Regions from separate parts of the Homo sapiens genome. Here region 1 is linked to region 2. Evidence: promoter capture Hi-C in human tissues and cell types (Jung and others, 2019). All regions are on one chromosome and are shown on one strand. The core of a region is centred on a gene start or on the middle of the fragment in contact, and the rest is flanking DNA. Distances in the headings are between cores, read along the strand shown. Region 1 overlaps FNDC3A (fibronectin type III domain containing 3A). Region 2 holds the start of CDADC1 (cytidine and dCMP deaminase domain containing 1).

The links. The method cuts DNA at HindIII sites, captures the fragments that hold promoters and counts their contacts. A contact is called where the count stands out against the background at its distance.
Region 1: a contact is called between a fragment that was not itself captured here and the fragment with the promoter of CDADC1 in region 2, in 3 of the 25 tissues and cell types used here (hippocampus, mesendoderm cells and spleen).

Annotation. Positions count from the first base shown.
Region 1 is chr13:49,137,629-49,140,740 of GRCh38, reverse strand. FNDC3A (fibronectin type III domain containing 3A) reads right to left here. Exons shown (of 26, transcript NM_001079673.2): 7 at 1,936-1,994. Among named protein-coding and RNA genes, the nearest start is that of MLNR, 81 kb to the left of the region's middle. The HindIII fragment of the contact is 4,145 bases long and covers 1-3,112 here.
Region 2 is chr13:49,246,236-49,249,198 of GRCh38, reverse strand. CDADC1 (cytidine and dCMP deaminase domain containing 1) reads right to left here and starts at 1,274. Exons shown (of 10, transcript NM_030911.4): 1 at 1,080-1,274; 2 at 234-328. The coding sequence starts at 1,161. It overlaps LOC105370203 (a long non-coding RNA gene), which reads left to right and starts at 1,359. Exons shown (of 2, transcript NR_135318.1): 1 at 1,359-1,564. RefSeq lists enhancers at 1,152-1,381, 851-1,413. The HindIII fragment of the contact is 6,098 bases long and covers 1-2,963 here.

The DNA.
Region 1 (3,112 bases), core at 452-2,951, 110 kb after region 2:
GAGCCCGTGTCTATCCTTTGCTTTCCATTCTATCTCCAGCTTTAGCACAACATCTGTCACTTTGTAAGCGGTAAAATATTTATGGAATGAAAAAGTGAATGAACACATTTAATTTAGTGCTCTAAATGAACTAGAGCATGCAAAAACAACCACACACACAAAAACAAGCAAGCAAAAACCCTGACCTGCACTTTGTAGCTCACAATTAATTTAATCAAAGAGGAATCGGCATTCAAACTATAAACTAAAACAAAGCAAATAAAACCATCAGCATTACTTTATGATACAGGGCTCACTATCTTATTAAACTACATGTTCTTCCTAATGTTGAGTAAGAAAGTCTTTGAATTGGCTTTAAGATTTACTTTTCCTGTCTGTAAATTATATATATATTTATTTATTTATGAGACAGGTTCTTGCTCTGTCACCCAGGCTGGAGTGAAAAGGCACAATCTTAGTTCACTGCAGCATTGAACTCCTAGGCTCAAGGGATCCTCCCACCTCAGCATCCCAAGTATCTGGGACTACAGGTGTGTGCCCCCTTGGTCTGTAGTATCTGTATTTGTTTTTTGTAGAGACGAGGTCTCAATATATTACTCAGGCTGGTCTCAAACTCCTGGCCTCAAGTGATCTTCTTGTCTTGGTTTTCCAAAGGACTGGGAAAGTGTGAGCCACTGCACCTGGCCTGAAAATTATACTTTTAATATATACTACAACAAGTAAATGCTACTAGCATTAGCTATTAAATCACTCAAACATCAATCTTATTAAGCCTACTAAATTCTTTTTCTAGTAAACCTAGTGATATACACTTGGGGTCTTGGAAGGATACTGCCTAAATTTCAGTCATAGCTCTACTACTACTAATTGAAACTCACTGTTGCTTCAGTTTCCTCATTTGTAAAGCAGGGAAAATAGTACATATATGGTTGTCACAGGTATTAAATAATGCACATGTGCATTCCAAGCACTCTGAACAGAGACTGATGCTAATCAATTTGTGTTAACCATTACTATGAAATAATTGTGTAAATTTACATTTATTTACACATATATGCTCTATTCTCAAGAGAAAACAGATTAGAATAAAGAAAGCTAGAGCAACCAAATCTATTATTTGGGAGTTGTCAGAAAAAGTAGGACCATATTAGTCTATTAGATGAGGAACTGGCTTACTCAAACATCCTAAAACATGGCAAGATAAGCTTAAAAAGCCTTTATGGAGATGGTACTAAGAATAATAACTTTTCTAATCTGTTTTCTCAGAAAAACAAAGTATTTTTGGGGCAACTTAGTATAAAACATTTTACCATGGATGTTTCTGAGAGTTGGGAAAGAGTAGTTTGTTTTATGAACCAAAAAATATTCTTATCAATCTTAAATTGCCTTATTCTGGCTGAAAAAGTCCTATGGCCTACTTCTTCCACCACATCTTTCTCCCCTTCACTATACTCCAGTGATAATGGTTCTTTCCCTCTGTCCAACTCCCCATGCTTACTTACACCTGTTCTCCCTCTCCCATTCCTTCCACTTTTGCACTTTTTCTCACTTGTCAGAGAAAGCTTCCCTGATTGCTCTATTTAACCTAACAACCTCTCCTATTAATCTCATCATATCATTCCTATTTCTATAATAGCAATCTTTACTATCACACAGAATTCTGTTTGTGCATTTGTTTTTTATTTATTGGCATATAGTAAGGGATCAATAAATATTTGATGAATGAATGACAAAACTATGTAGCTCTTCAAAGAATCAGGTAATGACATAGAAAGATAGCTAAAGCATACCATAGTGAGTGAAAAAGCTTGTCACAGAATACAGTATGATCCTATTTTCATAAAAAGTTAAAAGAAAAAAACTACATTTTGATGGATGAACATCTTATGCTAATATATTAAATATAAACATCAATAAAATACATAAGATACTTACCACTGGTTTGACAATGTTGGAAAGAAGTGCTTCAAATGCTTTAGTTTCTTCATCTTTTTCTTAAAAAAATAAAACATTTGAATATTTAAAAAAAAGAACTTAGATACAATCCCTTCTTCTCCCTAAATATGTATTCTGAAACTAGGTTGGTATTTGAGACTTTTATTTTCTAGTTTTTATTCCTTTGTTCATACTCAGCAGTTTGTGGCCCTTCAGCATTTATCTACTTTAGTTTTTATTTCTATCTTAACTGTGACTACTAATTATAACACCACTATATACAGATATATCTATATATATTTAGACATAGCTATATCTATCTGAACCAAATTTTTCTTATATCAAGTATATTTTTATTCATGGTTGTAAGAATATTCTCTCTGGAAAGTTCTCATTTGTCAATCTCATACCTCTTAATAAAGTTAACTATTTTTTCATGACATGCCTTAGTTATGGTTTCCCAAATTAGAAATATAATTGGCTTGACTGTAACTTATAGCCACCACTGATAGGCAAAAAACTTTAACTTAATTTCTTCTGAAACATCAGTGCTGAAAACGATGATCAGGTCTCAAATAAATGGGAGAACATTTATGTAAATGTTGTTAATATATAAGTCATGAACAGTTAAGACATTATTTGAAATTTGTTAGTGAGGCATGGAAATTTTAAGGAAAAGGAAGGTAGGAAGAGTTCACATGGCTTACATTTTGATATTTCCCTCAAAGTTGGAAGCATTTTAGTTCCTAGTCATATATTAATTACCTACACTATTTGATAGTAAATATCAATTTAGATAAGCATATTCAAGGACTGATAGAGTTGTGGTTATTGGTGCTTGTGAAATGACATGTTGGTATGGTTCATAGTCATTTCTGATGAAACCTTTAGAACCTGACATGGTCTACCATGCATATCTATGTATTTCTACATACGCATATCTACGTCAAACAGATAATAGTCAGTATTAAGGAAACCTAAAAGAACATACATATAGAAACTACATTAATCAAAGTAAGCAGTAGTTACAAGCTTAACATTACAATCAAAAGTACTGGGTACTAACTCCACAACTGTAGGCATATGAAAGACAGGCTGTTAACCCAGCTATATTTTACCTTATAGAGATTGATTCAAGTATATACAAATAATAGTGCTCAAAGTCCATATAGTAGGC
Region 2 (2,963 bases), core at 25-2,524:
ACATATGAATACCATTAGTACCCGATAAACATGGTATTCTCAGAAAGTATTTTTAGAATGGAAGATGACTTATTACGGCTGGGAATTATAAAGTGTCATGTTAATCAATAAAGATATTTTTTAAATCTTAAGCCTTGTTAAGTTTGGTTTTAGGTATGACAGAAACTGGAGCAATAAACTCAGATTTTAAACCACTGCTTTTCTAAGGGGAAAAACTATGAAACAAATTATACCTGAGATTTTTGCCGCTGGGCTTCTGCTGGAAAGAGCTCCATCCAGAGGCTGAGCAGAGTGAAAAGGTTGACTTTAGAAAGCCTTGGTATCTGACCTACAAAAGAGACGACAAACACTTTAAACTTTGTTACTAATGGTGAAAAAGGGAGCCAATCTCAATGCCACTTAGGTGCTGCAGCCTAAGCCCAGCTGCTTTCGCAAGAGGCACAGAAAAAGATAGGGGACAAGAGAGTCAGAGGTATCTTAGCAGTAGACGCTTCAGCCTTAGTCGTGGCTACCTCCTTCTCCACTTAAAAAGTTGAGCCTTCTTTCTCCAGCCCTCACCCTGCAGGAAAAAACGGTACAGCTAATACACATAGCTGAGGGGGACAACCCAAAGCAAGCTGTGAAAAGTCTTCGCATCTGACGTCGTCGTGGTGCAAGCTTTTCTTTGGACTGTGATGGGGCGTTGCTAAAAGGAAAGCGATTAGAACACAACCCGAAAAATGCGCTGACCTTCGACGGTAAAGCAGTCGAAATACAGGAAAGCGTCACGTGCGGTTAATTTGGAAATCAAGGCAAAAGCGCCGTTTGGAAATGTTCAGGCTCTTTGACCTCAGAGGCCCCAGCTCTAGGTCCTGTGAGAAGTAGCTAACAGGGGTAAAAAGCGAGACTTCAAAAGCCAGTGCGACCGAGCCGATTGGTCCTGGCGACCGCGGAGGGGACACGCAGAGGGCGGGCAGGAGACATCCAAAAGCAGCAGGGGAGGCAAAGAGGCTCAGACAAGGAATCTGGAGTTCAATGACGGGAGACGCACAGGGCAGAGCGAAAGGTAGGGTGGCGGGAGCAGGGTCCCGGACACTCACCGGTCATGCTGCCAGTCTGGGTGCTGACTGACCGCCCGGCCCTCGCGCTCTCCAGATTTTGCATCTGCCCAGCTTCTTTCATCCCAAACCTAGCGTCCTCTGCTGCCAAGGAAACCTCTCCCAGTCAGACATGATCTCGGCCCTAGCGCCCCCGCCTCTCGCCTCCTCTCAGCAACTGTAAGGCAACGGCCCACTAGGCGCAGCCAGATGACGCCTCAAGCTTGACCGCCACTTCAGGGCTCCTCGTGTGACGTCATAGAGAGGCGGGGCTTTGGCGCCAGAGGGCTGCCCCTCGGCCGGTGACCGAGTTAAGCACCGAGCTGTAAATCGCTTGAGACCTGTATTTGGTTGTTTTGTTGGTTTTGCCAAGTAAGGTCACTTGAGGATTTCTTGGCTCGAGGTCCCAGGTTGCGCAGACTCTGACTGCATCGAGTTGAGAATTTTGGTCAGAATGTTAAAGTGGAAACCTACCCCAGGCTGTCATGGTCAGTGTTTTAGAGAACTTCTTGGGTTGGGGTGTGGAGCTGGGCGGTCCAGGATGTTCTGTCATCAGAGACTGGCGGGTTCTGGGGAACTTGGTGCCATGGAACACAGTAGGGACGTTCTGCTTCTCATCAAGAACATGAAGACATTAAGAGGTGGAATTGTAATGGGGAAAAAGGTGAGAGGAGGCAGTAGGAGTTATTTTGTTTTTAATTTCTAATGTCTAGTTTATTTCCACAAAACATCTGTATCATACCAGTTCTTTGAAATTTGTTCAGACTTGTTTTATGACCTAGATCAGCACTGTCCAGTAGGATTTCCTGTAGTATTCTATATCTGCACTGTCCAATATGGTAGCCACCAGCCACATGTGGCTATTGAGCATCTGAAATGTGGCCAGTACAACCAAGGAACTGCATTTTTAACTTCATTTAGTTTTAATTAATTTACATTTTAAGTAGTGACATGTGGCTATTGGCTACTACTGTATTGGACAACATTACTCTAGACTCTCCTCCTGGAATTCCTATTAGGCATAGGTTAAACCTTCTGAGGTTCTAAATTATTATTTTTAAAATATTGCATCATTTTGTTTCTCTGAGCCACATTCTGGCTAATTTCTTCAGATCTATCTTTCAGCTTGCTATTTATTTCTTTGGCTTGTAGAATTTTTTCTAGTTCGCCTGTTCTGAGGGTAAAGCTCTTCAGGTGATTTGACTATATCCAGAGAACTCCATTCTGCACCTTTCCTGAAGTGTAGACTTTGTTGACAGTGCCTTCATGGCAATTAACACTAAGGTTTAAAGACAGGCCATGGACTAGGAGAAAATATTTGCAAAGCATGTATCCAACAAAGGACTCATATCCAGAATATATAAAGAACCATATAAACTCAGAGTAAGTAAACAGTCCAGTTAGAAAATGGATCAAAGACTTGAATAGTCATTTCACCAAAGAAGATATACAGATGGCAAATAAACATGTAAAACAGTGTTCAGTGTCATTGGCCATTAGGGAAATGTATATTAAAACCACAATGAGATTCTACTACACACCTATTTAAATGGCTAAAATAACAAGTACTGACAGCACTAAATGCTAGTGAGGATGCAGAGCAACCGGATCTCTCAAACATTGCTGGTAGGACTATAAAATGGCATAACCACTCTAGAAAACAGTTTGACAGTTTCTTATAAAGTTGCACATATGCTTATCATATCACCCAGCAATCACACTCCTGGGTATTTATCCTAGACAAACCAAAACTTATGTTCAAACAAAACTCTGTACATGAATGTCATGGTGGCTTTATTTTTAATAGTCAAAAACTGAAAACAGGCCAGGCATGGTGGCTCACACCTGTAATCCCAGCACTTTGGGAGGCCAAGGCGGGCGGATCAT